3 separate regions of the Homo sapiens genome follow, and regions 2 and 3 are each linked to region 1. The links are contacts of gene promoters, found by promoter capture Hi-C in human tissues and cell types (Jung and others, 2019). All regions are on one chromosome and are shown on one strand. Each heading gives the region's core, a stretch centred on a gene start or on the middle of the fragment in contact. The rest is flanking DNA. Distances are from core to core; before and after follow the strand shown.

The links. Contacts are between HindIII fragments. The study calls those that stand out against the background at their distance.
Region 2: a contact is called between a fragment that was not itself captured here and the fragment with the promoter of B4GALT6 in region 1, in 1 of the 25 tissues and cell types used here (lymphoblastoid cells).
Region 3: a fragment that was not itself captured here is called in contact with the fragment with the promoter of B4GALT6 in region 1 in 1 of the 25 tissues and cell types used here (lymphoblastoid cells).

The regions. Positions count from the first base shown.
Region 1 is chr18:31,681,573-31,686,445 of GRCh38, reverse strand. It overlaps B4GALT6 (beta-1,4-galactosyltransferase 6), which reads left to right and starts at 1,865. Exons shown (of 9, transcript NM_004775.5): 1 at 1,865-2,134. The coding sequence starts at 2,020. RefSeq lists a silencer at 729-1,768. The HindIII fragment of the contact is 7,513 bases long and covers 145-4,873 here.
Region 2 is chr18:31,242,751-31,247,290 of GRCh38, reverse strand. All of the region lies in intron 1 of LOC105372049 (a long non-coding RNA gene), which reads right to left. Among named protein-coding and RNA genes, the nearest start is that of DSG1, 73 kb to the left of the region's middle. The HindIII fragment of the contact is 3,577 bases long and covers 619-4,195 here.
Region 3 is chr18:31,226,283-31,230,683 of GRCh38, reverse strand. LOC105372049 (a long non-coding RNA gene) reads right to left here and starts at 2,572. Exons shown (of 4, transcript XR_001753388.2): 1 at 2,474-2,572. The HindIII fragment of the contact is 5,175 bases long and covers 1-4,401 here.

The DNA.
Region 1 (4,873 bases), core at 616-3,115:
CTTGCAAGGGGGTATTATATCCACTGTTTGAGGGCGGAGAAAACAGGCTCACACAAAGTAGTAGCTTCCAGGGGTCTCACAGTTAATATTAATGAAAGGCTTGGGCTTATACATAGGTGTTTCAGGTTCCACATTGCAAAGCATTATCTCAGGGACGATCTATGGCATGCGCATCCCGATAAAAACGTACCAAATTTATTGGCTATCAACTACAGTTCCATCTGGAAATACTCAGCAAATAATGGCAGTAAGGCATCCCGCCACTTCCTGCATGATTAGTTGAAAAAGAAACACCTGCGCACACACATTTGAACAATGTGATACAGCTAAGGACCTGGACAGTCAGCTAGCAGGAAGAAACATTTGAACGAAGGGTAGACCACGGCCTAGGAGGTGGATGAAGACACCCGTCCGTTTGCCTACTGAAGCAAGATGGGGCTGAGGCGCTCAAGGGCCTATTGGCTGCCCAGAAGCCTTTGCAGCGCCGCCTGAATACAGCGAGGATGACCCAGGGTTCACCTTCAGCGTTGAAGGCAAGTCCTGGTATAAGGGACGCACATAGGTCCGCGCCACATCCTGACACTGTTTCCACAGGAAGTGCGGGATAGGAGGGGGGATTCATTAATCCAGGTCGGAAATACACCTTGTTCCTCGAGGATTTTGGAAGGAAATTCCACCCGCGAAGTCCCCTTTTGGAGATGCCCTTTTCCTTTCAGGTACAGCATCCTTCATTATGTACCCCCAGGGTACAATGTATCCGGGGCTCGCAACGCGTCCCTCAACCCCCAGCAGCGCGGTCACCGCGGGGTCCCCGGGCGGGCGGGGGCGGCGGTGACGCAGGAGGCGGTGGGGCCCCGGTGCGGCGGGCGCGGGGAGGGGGCTGCTGGGCGCGGGCCTATCAGGACGCGCGGTGTTTCGGGCGCGGGGAGGGCGGGGACCTCCAGGTTTCCTCGGGGCCCGGCGCAGCGCCGCCTGCCGAGTTCCGAGCGAGCGCGCGAAGCGCGCAGGGGTCTCGAGACGTTCCCGCCGGTCCCGGTTTTCCTCCGCGGCTCCCCCGCCCCTTCACGTCCGCCTCTTTCTCCAACCAGACGCGGCTCCGACGGCGCTCGGCCTCTGCTCTTCCGGCTCCCCGGCTCTGCCCGCAGCGCGCGTCGCCCGGTTGCTCTTCGCCTGGTGTCCGCGGGCCCGGCGGGGGCGCCTCACCCCGGGCGCGCGGCGGTAATGCCGCTGCCGCCCTTGCGGCCAGGCAGGCAGCTGGCGGCGGCCGGAGTCGGAGCGCGTTCGTCGCTGGCCGGGACGCCGCCCTGGCCTGTGCTCAGCTCCCGCGGCGGCCGCGGGGCGCCGGGGCCCGGCGCGGCATGAGGAGGCGGCTCGGTGCAGGCGAGCGCCCAGCTCCTCGGCCCCGAGGGCCCCCGCGGGCCCCCGCGCGTGGCGCGCGCTGGTTGCGGCCCCGGCGCCCACGCTAGCCCCGCGCAGGCAGGAGACGCCGCGGCCCGGAGTAGGAGGCGGCGCAGGGCCTGCCGAGCGGACGCGGGCGGCCCGGACCTTAAGCACGGGGCTTCGCGGCGGGACCCCGCCGGGCGCGGGCAGCGGAGCCGGGCGTGCTGCAGTTAGCTGCCCCTCTCCGCAGGGGCGCCGCGGCGCGCAGCCTGCGCCTCCTCCCACCTGCAGCCCCTCCTCCCGCCGCTGCTTGGCGGAGAAAACGCTCCTCCTCGCCCTTCCCCGGCTTTCTTCCGTCCTGCCGTCCCCGGGCCCCTAGCCCCCAGTCCCCTCTCCCCCCTCCACCTCTTGTCCCTCGGCCTCCGCGCCTCCCCTCCCCCGACTCTCTGGCCTCCCATTCATTCCGTCCGCTCCCTCCCATTTCCTCTTTTCCGCTCGGGCCCTCTCCCCAGAGCCTCCCCGCGCGGACCCCGCTGCAGTCTCGGGGTTCTCAGCACATTTATGGAAGTTTAGGGCCTGGACAGTGGCCCCGAGTCCGGCCTGAGAGCGCAGCCTGGGCTGCTGGCAGGGAAGAGGAAGATGTCTGTGCTCAGGCGGATGATGCGGGTTTCCAATCGCTCTCTCCTCGCCTTCATCTTCTTCTTCTCCCTCTCTTCGTCCTGTCTGTACTTCATCTATGTGGCCCCAGGCATCGGTAAGCACCGAGACACACCCTCGCTTCCCCTGGTCACACCACAGCCAGCGCAGGCTGTTATCCGATGTTACTTCTGGGATTTGGAAGCTGTTCAAACAGGGGCCCGCAGAAAAGCGTTTTGTTTTAAATGTTATTTCAGACGTGTCAAACTGCTTCAGGGCATGGCTTTGGTATGTGAGTTTTGTTAATGCATGCATTTTGTTAATGCATGTTTGTTAATAACGTAAAAGATTGCATTAAATAGACGTAGCAAAATTAGTGTGATGGCCCGGGATGCCCTAGTCGCTTTCTTGAGTGTTCATGACAGCTTTATCCATTTAATGTTAAGTCTTTAAGCCTAAACTGAGTGCTTAATCGTAGTTTTATTCAAACACTCTCGGGTATAATAACTGGTTGTAAAAATATGGAGGAGCCAGCAGCAGGGAATGTGATTGAGTCCAACAATGTGTGTTTTCTAGGGTCCTAGGTCGCTTTTTTAGAATGGGGTCAGTGGACCCCATTCTTTTTGTGCCATACTTGGGGAATTTTAAGGCGATGAGTTGTCTTGTAAAAACAATGCTCCATTATTTTAGTCTGCTTGGGTGTTATTTTCAAGGGTACGTTGCCTTTGCTACCTGTTAGGATGACTTCTGAGAAAATAGTGATTAAAATAACCGTTATCTAAGGGAACTTGTAGTTTAAAATGTTAACCGGTTTATCATTTTTTGGCCTTTGGTGCAAAATACACTTTTGTAAAACTGCTTGAATTAACTTCTTTATTAAATATCCGAATTCCTCGTCCCCCATTTGTTGAAAAGGAGCCAATGCGGCGTTAATTCTAGTGAATGAGAATTATGAACTTCACATGCATATTAAAATATGTCATATTTCCAAAACTTTTCTGAGTTTTTCCTGGCTATTACGTATTTAATGTTCAATTACTTAGTAACAGTGAGCATCTCCTCTCATTTCTCCTTACACACTGTGGTCGTTTGAGCCAGTGCTCTTTGTTCCGAGTTAGCTAAAAATGTAATGCCCCTTACAGAGTGAAAACACCTGCAGAATTTTCAGATGGAATGATCAGGGCATTGTCTTGAGTGTAGTAGATTATTGCAGTGAATTGCAGCAGGGAAGGAAGATGGAAACCTAATCCAGACTGCTTCATTTCTTAAAATTACTATGAGACTTTTTCTTTAATAATTAATTTTTGGATTCAGTGAGGTGTATAAACTCAGATGATGATGTTTAAGAAGAAATGCATTGTGAAACGTTGACGTATCCCAAAATAGAAGTTTTAGGGTAAAGTTTGAAGAATATTTTAACATTATTGCAGTTTTCCTTTAGGCCAGAAAAAACAAAAAACCTCACAAAAACCTACCCCTTGAAGCCTATAGTACAAATGACAGTGGTAGCTTAGTGGATTTGATATTATCTAGATACTCAACAAGAGCTTTCTTTATTTTTTGCCATTTTGGAGTCTTATAAATTAACTCTTCATTCTATAGCAATTTTTACTTTCTCATGTAACTCTTTAAAAGTTTGGACATCTTTGGGGTATGTTTTTTTACTAGGAATTTAACTTTGAAAGATTTTGGAGAAAGTTTTTTTCACACTTACATAACAATTTTCCCACTTTCTTAGTATTATGAGTAACATGTTAAAGTTATATTACTCAAAAAGCTAACCAAAGGAAATCAGAATTCTAGTCATCCCTTTTTTTTTAAAGTTAGTGCGTCAGTATATTATTTGTAGATTCTTAATTCAACTTGTGTGAAACACTAATAAATTTTCCTTATTTGAATGCTTAATGTTTGCCATAGAACGGTCACTGATATAATGTAAAAATGTTGGCACGTGTCTTGTAGGCAATTAGATTGATGTGGCTTAACCTACTCTGTTTTTGTAGGTCTTATAAATGATAATAAGTTATTAAAACCAGTTAGAAGAGTGCAAACCAAAAACTTACAAAATGCTGTGAAATTGTCAAGCTGAATCTGTTTCCAAAACCCTGTACCATTTAGCCAAAAAAAGCCTCCTTTTTAATCTTTTGTATCTTTAAGTATTGGGAAGCAGTTTTCCAAAATTCAGATTTTCGCTTGAAAGTTTGAATTTTATCATTGGCAACAAATACTGTCAGTTTTTCTTGAAGTGTCAGGCTCACTTTGCTCATTTTCGAGAAAATGTAGGTCAGATGCACAAGTTTAACCATAGTTTTTCAGTTGTTCTTTCAAGTAAAAATGATGTTCCATGAAAAATGTGGCTTGTTGAGTCCATACTGCAGCAATCAATCAATTGCACAAGTGCTTCAGATTTCTTATTTATGAGACATATCCAGAAGTAATTAGGTTCTTATAACTAGTTTTTATTCGATGTATGTGGATTTTTCTTGAAATAATAACTTCAAGAAAATAATTCATATTTTAGCCTGAATTACATCTTGGGGCAAAATGTGTTTATGACTAAAATGTATGTTGTAAGTACTTTTTATGTGCCCTAAAAAGCGTTTCAAATCTCCTCTGTTAAGAAATTCCTATTAATCCTACCATATCAACCTGTTTGGTAAACTTTAATTCTCTTTCCCTACTTGTTTTCTGTCCTGAGCCCTGTGTATGTCATGGGCTTTCTTCCCAGGTAGATCTTCTGTCATTTTAGTTCCTCTTCTTTGCCATCTTGAGCAGATACATCACACAGTTGTAGGCAGCGTAATCTGTTTAGTTTCCAGTGTTTTCAGATGTTCCTCTGAAATAGTCTATTTCTGGA
Region 2 (4,540 bases), core at 1,158-3,657, 440 kb after region 1:
AAAGCTTGTTTCTTTTTTTCTTTCTTTTTTTCTTTTTTAAGACAGGGTCTCACTCTGTTGCCAAGGCTGGAGTGCAGTGGCACGACCACAGCTCACTGCAACCTCTGCCTCCTGGGCTAAAGTGATCCTCCCACCTCAGCCTCCCGAGTATCTGGGACTACAGGTGCATGCCACCATACCCGGCTAATTTTTGTATTTATTGTAGAGTTGAGGTTTCACCATGTTGTCCAGGCTGGTCTCAAACTCCTGAGCTCAAATGATCCTCCCACCTCGGCCTCCCAAAGTGCTGGGATTAAGGCGTGAGCCACCACGCCTGGCCAAAAAAGCCTATTTCTTTCACACAAGAATTCTGGCTCCTTCTTTCTTTCCAGGGCTTTCAGGCAAGGCTCATTCCTGCAAGCAGTCTTCCAGCTTTTCTGCATATGTGAGTCTTAGAGGAAAATCTGCTCAGCTAAGCTCCTAGGCTAATAAGCACCTCTTTTCTTCTAATTCTTGAGAGCTTTTGTCTATGGCTGTTGTCAGGACTGCTTTACTTCCTGTTTTCTGGAAACATACACCAAACTGTGGCAGCTGAATGACCAAAGCTATCAGCCAGACTCACTCTATCTGAGCCATCTTTTTCTGGGGTTGTCGGGGAGGGTGGGAGGGCATCTGGTCTCCACTTCCTGTTTTCTGTGTCCTATCTAGACCCATTTCTAATAGATCCTCCAACTTCCATTCTGTTCATTCTGTCTTCTAAGCATCATTCCTCTGAACATTTAACCTGGTACCCATATATCACTATCCAAGTTTAATTTAAGACAACGGTGGCTAACAAATCAATAGCACCTACTTGTCCTGAGATAATTACTGAGCAGTACCAGTGGACTGGTTTCTAAGATATTCTACAATATAAATACAAGGCACAAGGTTTGCTGGTGAGATGTCAGATTTCATTTTGGAATAAGAGTTTCGGATTCCAAGCATGGTATAAAATAGAATATTTTATGTTAGGACATTAATCCAAAGTACCAACTAAATTCAAACTTCTAAAAGTATTAACAAGTAGGAACTAATAAGGTTGACATGGATAGGCTCTTGAGACTAAAGAAGTTATGGGATTATTTTAAATTAAAAAATGGAAATAAAAACACTTTGAAATAAAAGCCAGGGTTTATACCATCAGAGCAAAAACTAGGTAGCCATATAAATAAAACAAATCCAAGCTAAATGTTCAGCAAGACCAAAAGAAGCTTCCATTCCCCGCCCACTTAAATAAAAACACTAACCACACCCACACAGGCTATTTAGGTATGACTCCTCTGAGAAAGAGCTTCTTGCGTTTTCTCAGGGAGGAGTCAAGCCCCCAAACCTCATATTTTGTTTTCGTATGTCCTCTCCTACTATTTGAATAAGCTTTCAAAAATAACACATTGTCATTTCATTCATATAAGTCATATAAAACCTGAGATGTTAGCTTACTGAGGACAGAAAATTTGTGTATTTAATATTTTTAAGCTGTAAGTCCTATATGCTAGATTAGTGTTTACTTTTAATCATTTAAAAAATATTTTTAACTCGAGCCAAATATATTAGGTTGATGAAAAAGTAATTGTGTTTTTTGCCATTAAAAGTAAAGACAAAGACCGCAATTACTTTTACACCAATGCAATACATTTGTCAGACTGCTAAGGGAAGGACAGCTTGCATTACAGACTTCTTTTTGTATCATAAAAACAAAATATAAGCAGTGCTTCACATCTGAATGTGGGAAGTTAAAGATTATTTTATTTCATCATTTTGTTTTTGCTTTTCTGTATTTTCAAAATTTCTTCCATAGCGTATATATATTTTCTATCAGACATAAAATAAAATAGTGTTTACTTTTCAAATGTGGTAATTTCATCAATAAAGATAAAACACTGAAGCCAGTGTTTTGACTCCATTAACATAGACTTCTTTTTAAAAATGTGCAGTAGGTGAGCTCTTATTTTGACATTCATTCAAGCCCTTCCCGATTAGCCCATAGTTCATTTCACTTCAAACATTTCTTCTTTGTGTTTGCAGTTGAAATATTCTCTTAACAGCTCAGAAGGCTGCAGAAAATGCTATGCTTCATCAGGCAAAATGGATTAAAAAGGGAGTGTGCTCAACGCTGGCAGTGAAGGATGTCATTGTCTGACAAACTACACAGCAATTTGAGATTCAGCAGTTTCCTTTCCATTTAAGAAAGCTGCATTGTAAACAAGAAGCTAAATCATGAAGAGATGCAAGATTTGTCTAGGAAATTAAACGTATGTTAGAGACACTGACCAAGACTCGTTTTTGTTGGTGTAAAGGACTCTACTGTGAGATGGGCTGTTATTCAAAAGGTTCCACTTTCGAGTTGTTTTTCTCTGGGTACTACTGCCTCCCCAGCCTCTACAGACTCTAACCCTGCCAGGCAGATTGTTTATGGTGTTGGTCTTCGGGAGTGTGGTGCCTGGGCCTGTTTGTCAGTACCGATTCTTATTGCCCTCTATTTTTCTTCAGGTCTGACAGAATACTTCAGCAGCAGACTAGCCAAGAGCTGGTGCAGGACCACAAAGCTCAGGACACTAACTCCTTTCTCCATTGGGACGGCCTTCTCAGGAGGTTATTCTGATCACCCCTAGTTCCAGTTCTTTTCTATCATTGGGTCAGTTTCTGATGTGTTCAGATTCTGATAAATGTCCCAAGTGCAGCACACACAAAAAGACCAGGGGCTGCCAAGCATTCTAAATGTGCAGGTCTTTGAACCTTGGGGAGCATTTCAATATCCAAATTATTTCTTATTTGATCTTCACAAAACTTTCCCTGTGAGACGAATGTGATCCCCAGGTTACAGAGACAGCCAGATAAAGCACTGAACCCACATCTTCGGACTCCATTTTAGTGAAAACGGAGTTCTTTTTTTGTTTTGTTTTGCTTCTTTGTTTTCCAGGGTGACCTTAGGAAGTCACATTCCTCAAAGGCCAAAACAAACAGACAAAAAGCAAACCTACACAGAAAACAAATGCAGGAAGGAAAAGAGGAAAAAGGCCCTTTCTGATAAATGGCAAATTTAAAGTGCTGATAATAGGAAGATACATTTAAATTGAAAATACATTTGCCATAGCTTCTAGAAGCAATCTTGGAAAGCTTTCCTGTACCCTGAAAACACCTACTTTGCATGACCAATCTCCTCCATGTGGGGAGAGTACGCAGAAGTCATTTGCCAAGGAAGCTGCTGCACCTCACCACTGTGGAGGAAGCATGACCTTTACTATTTCTGCCGTATGATTGGGTGACTACAGTACTGCTCCTAGCATGAAAGCTGGCTCTGTTTTATGGGATTCCCACTGTCCTGCCCTACTTGGGCCGGCGTACAGTGTTAAAGATAACAAATGACCCCATCTGCTGTTTCTGACCATGCTGTATGTGTCAAGTTTAAGTAAGGAAGTCTTACCTCGTGTCCTGTCTGGGCAAGCACAATGACCCGTCTGTAGTACGCGTACCTCCCTGAGATCAAAGACCAAGTCCAGTTTCCAATTTGCTAGACTCCATTGGAAGGTTATTTATCTCAATCCATGAGTTTTAACACTTCGGGCTTTTCAAATGAATTCAAGTTAGAAGGTATTTTAGAAGTCAAATCAGTCTAAGAGCTTATCGGCTAAGGACAGTATGAAAATCAGGAAACCTTTGAGTGGTTTTCAAAATGAATTTCTTACAGTCTCACACTTAGAGACAACTAAAATATAAATTATTTATATGTAAATTGTTCATTCCCCTAGCAGTACCAGTGTTTTCAAGGGAACTGTTGTGAAGACACTAGAGCTTTCAGGGTTCTGGTTTACATCCCTGTAAAATCTGTAGAGCATTGAAAACCTGTTATTTGTAAAACACTCCACAGTTGATTCTGATAATCAAGTCCTCTTTTCAAGAAAGTCTGTTGATTTCTATTTAGAGAAAAAGGAGAAATTAAAAATAAAGCCAACAAACAGCCAGGACCGTCTTAGGGGATTTAACTCTTTATCTCTTTCCCCTGTTGTATGGTCTGCACAGCAGTTAATACTTTCTGAAATCACCTTGCTTTTTACTTGTTCCTTCCCACCCCCTCACCCATTGTATACACTCCATGAAAGCAGAAACATTGTCTCTTTTACTTTGCGCTAAAGTTTGTTGAATGAAAAAAAAAAAAAGACTTCAGAAAGCACCTCTATCCAGCATAGCTTTCATACCTTAAAAGACATAAATCCCTGTACATTTAAGTGATTTACAAATTTTCCAAAACCACAATAAATGAATGAATCAGGATAAGAACCTGGGTCTCTGTGCAGCTCAAGTGTTTGTTATTGTGTGCTAGTTAGTTTCAGGTGGTCACCTGCTCAAGTCCATTTGTCTAGATAGTATTAATTGATTGCCAATAAGTCAGGCACCTCATTAGGTGTTGTGATAAATACAAAAAGTACAATAACACTCTTCTTGCCTCAAAGAATTTATTATCTAGTAAGTACAATAAAACCTGTCCACTGAAACTACTCCCCCAAATCATTCCTCCTCC
Region 3 (4,401 bases), core at 825-3,324, 460 kb after region 1:
AAACAAAGCATTGTTAATTCTACTTGGTTGAAACAGGAGGCTACCTGGATGATTATCCTGCTATTTTTTCTTTTTTACTACGGACTCATGACTGAGTCATACTTGAGAATTACAGCATGGGGTCATTGTATAACCAAAAATCTAAAAGAAATTAAAAATAAAGCAAAATTGATAACAACTTCACAATGATCAAAAAGGTACATAATATTTCATATTTCATACAATGAATTGTTATTTATTGTGGACTCCACTGTAAGAGTGTCTTAATTCTCACAAGCTTAAAAGCAGTATGGTGTCTTGTAATGTTGGGGAAGTGAATTCACACTTGGAGGTAGCTTTATCTCACAGTCAAACTGTGGATTTCAGTTAAGGAACTTGAGTTAGAATTCTTTTCCACGCCTCTTTGTTATTATCATTTTTTATACATTTCCAAGTTTCATTTTCTCTTTGGCCTATAGAGATACCATAATATTTTTTATCTTATTCCAGGAAATTCTTAAAAGGAGGATTCTTTATGAGCATAAAAGTTCTCATATGTTACTGTCCAAACAGGCAAATAGTTAGACTCTATTGTAAAGAAAACAAAAAAACCTGTAAGACACAACTAAGTCAAAAGGAAACTAGCCACTCACTCTTGACCTGTAATAGATAATTGACACGTGATACCTTTATTAGTATACCTCAAATGCAACATAATCTACCTTGTGGTATTGTTGTAATCACTTATCACAAATAAAATGTTATCCCAGTCCACTTACATGCTAGGAATAATGTTTTGCACACACGAAGTTAGAGACTGCCTGGTTATGGCCATGTGATGAAGTTCTCACCAGTAGAGTATGAGCAGCAGTGATACGTAAAATTTCTGCCACAATTTAAAGGAAAATTGCTGGCCTTGATTTTCCTATTCTTCAAGCTGAACACAAATATGCTCACTAGCCAACTTTGACCATAAAGTTAAAAAGAAAGTCTGAGATGCTGAAAAGAAAAAAAAAAGGAAGAGATCTGGATTCCTGGATGGCTATGTAGAGCAGAGTCACCTTGGAACCCTGAACTGCTCATTTGGGGACTATTAGGTTATATATGAAACAAATCAATGTTTATTTTGAGAAGTGACTATATTTTGGGATCTCTTTATTACTGTAGCTTAGCTTTTTGACATAATGTTGAAGAGACTGGTATTGAAAGTGGGATGCAGATAGACATCACAAAAACAGAAAAGATGTGATTTTGGCTTGAAAATCAAGTAACACACAGAAAGGACAAAATATAGTAGATGGGAACTACGGTTACCTTCAGTCATGTGTTGAAAACATTTGGTAAGAATATGACATGTGATGATTTGCAAGACAAGCACATTTCCCACTGAGCTTGTTCCTCTAGGTGAAGTGGTTAGAAATTTCCAGAAAGATAGTGTGAGAAGATGGCGATACAGTTTGGATGTTGTTCCCTCTAAGTCTCAGGTTGAAATGTAATCCCCAATGTTGAAGGTGGGGTCTGGTAGGGGGTGTTTGGGTTATGGAGGTGGATCCCTCATGGCCATGGCTTGGTACTGTCTTCATGATAGTGAATGAGTTCTCGTGAGGTCTAGTTGTTTAAAATTGTGTGGCACTGCCCCCCCACCAACTCTCACCGCTGCTTCCAATTTGCTTTTCACCATGAGTAAAAGATCCCTGAAGCCTCAGATGCCCAGCACCACACTTCCTATATAGCCTGCAGAACCATAAGCAAATTAAATCTCTTTTCTTTATAAATTACTCAGTTTCAGGTATTTCTTTTTCTCCTTCCTTCCTTCCTCCTTCTTTTTTTTTTTTTTTTTTTTTTTTTGACAGAGTCTCATTCTGTCACCCAGGCTGGAGTGCAGTGGCATGATCTTGGCTCACGCAACCTCCACCTCCCGGGTTCAAGTGATTCTCCTGCCTCAGCTTCCAAGTAGCTGGCACTGCAGACATGCACCACCACACCTGGCTAATTATTGTATTCTTGTAGAGACAGAGTTTCACAATGTTGGCCAGGCTGGTCTTGAATTTCTGACCTAAGTGATCCACCCACCTTGGCCTCCCAAAGTGTTGGGATTACAGGTGTGAGCCACTGCGCCTGGCCAGGCATTTCTTTATAGCAACACAAGAACAGCCTAACACAGATAGTTACAGTATAAAAGTCAGAAAGCAGATACACTTAAAACTAAATTTTAAAAAAATGAGGTATGGTTATTGAAACATGCAATCAATTATAAGGAAAAAAACCCTGCAGTTACTATGTTTTCAATGGATTGCGTTACCAAATTAGCCATCAGCATAATTTGGAAAAGCAAAATTGTGAGGCATGAAGTAGTCTTCTGATATTCATGTAAAAGACACAAAATAAGTGCCCAGAAGGCAAGGTCAGAGGCCACAACGACCACAGGCAAAGGAGTTCCTCTCAGAGAGTAGAACCAGGGACAGCCAGACGGGTCAACCAAGAACCCACTCACCTCCCAGAGCAGACAGATGAATGACTCCCACCCAGCACAGTGATAACTTCTCTAGATCAGTCTCTGTAGTGTGCTTCTCATGCTTTCCTTTTCCAAATTGTGGCTTATATTGCATTTATCCTATTCCTGCTCTGCTACTGTTTATTTGTGGGGTGGGAATTGGAGGGAGGTAACATATTGATCTGGTGGAGAGGACTGTGTTTCAACTAGTGATCCTGAACTTTGAGCTGGATGAAATAACTGAATTAGACTTCAGCTTACCTACTTTGGAAAGGGAACAAGTATGTTCCATTTGTGGAAGGAAATTTACATCTAAACAGTGGGGTGGCTAGAGCCAAATATTGTGTCAGAAACTGCTAACTGTCCACCAAATTCCATTATCTCCTGTGTTGTAGTAATAGAATTTAAGTTGATCATATGACTTCCTTGGCAGAGATTACATTTCTCTGAGTCCTTTGCAGATGATAATGTGATGTGATGGCATTCTTGCCAATGCAATGTGAGTCAAATGGCTGGTTACCATTTCTGCCTCACTTGTTTTAAAGATAAGTAAAAGCCAAAGGGCCTGAGGTTGGGATGCAAAAGAAACAGGATGACTGGAGTGAAATAAGCCAGAGAGCACAGGCCAGACCAGTACATAGTGCAAAGCTTGAATCTTACTCTGCAAGAAACAATTGAGCCAAGTAACGATAAGATTTCATTTATATTTTCAAAAAGAGACTTGACTATGTTGGAGCAGAAAGAAGACTTCAGAGGCAATTGCAAGAGCCCAGGTGAGTGATGAAGGTGGCTTAGTCTAGAATGGTGGCAGTGAGGGACATGATCAGCTCACATTCTGGATACATTTTGAATTATGAGCCCCTTAGGACATGCTCATGAATTGACTGTAGAGTGAAAGGGAGCAGAGTCAACTCAGGTGAATTCTAGGTTTTTGGCCAGAAAAATTGGATGAATGGGAAGATTGAGAGAGGAGCAAATCTGTGGTGTGGTCTTAAACCACGAGTTTTGTTTTAGATATTTTAAATTTTGTCTATTGGAGATCCAAGTAGAGGTGTCAAGGAAGTGGTTGCATAACTGGGCCTCAGTTTAAAGATGGTGTTTAAACCTGAGAGATGAGGCGTGACCACCAAATATGTCCGTGTGTAGAAAATAAATAGAAGAGAGTCCAGTACTTACTGGCAGTGTGCACAAAATTCAGAGGCCAGGAGGAGAGAAAGAATAGTGAAGTCACAGAAGAGGAAGTTAAGTAAAGAAAGTGTTTCTGGACGGAGGTAATGAAGGACTTGAAGAAATGCTGCTCTGCATCTGAGCTGTTGTATGTGTTGTGGTTCTTTCATTATTTATAAATAAAAAGGAAAAAATATGTCTCATATAGCCAAGTCTACTTGGCTTTTCTATACCAGAAATGCTTATAGGGCAATTGTTATTAGAAAAGAAAAAAATGATACTATTTTTAAATTTTAATTGCCATTTTTTTTTTTTTGAGACAGGATTTTGCTCTGTCACCCAGGCTGGAGTGCAGTGGTGTGAACATAGCTTTCACTGTAGCCTCGACCTTCCGGGCTCTCTCTCTCTCTCTGTCTCTCTGTCTCTCTCTCTCTCTCTCTCTCTCTCTCTCTCTCTCTCTCTCACACACACACACACACACACACACACACACACACATATTAGAAACAGGGTTTTGCTATGTTGCCAGGCTGGTCTCAAACTTCTGAGCTCAAGAGATTCACCCGCCTTAGCCTCCCAAAGTACTGGGATTACAGGTGTGAGCCATGGTTCCCAGTCCCCAACTACCTTTTATAAAAGTTGGGTCCTGTTAAATAAAGTGCCCTCTATTCACCCTTTACTCTGCTGAGTACCCTGAAGGGTTTGAATATATATATGCATCTAAGTGTTGTGAAAGGTGGAATTCATTGATATAAAAAAGG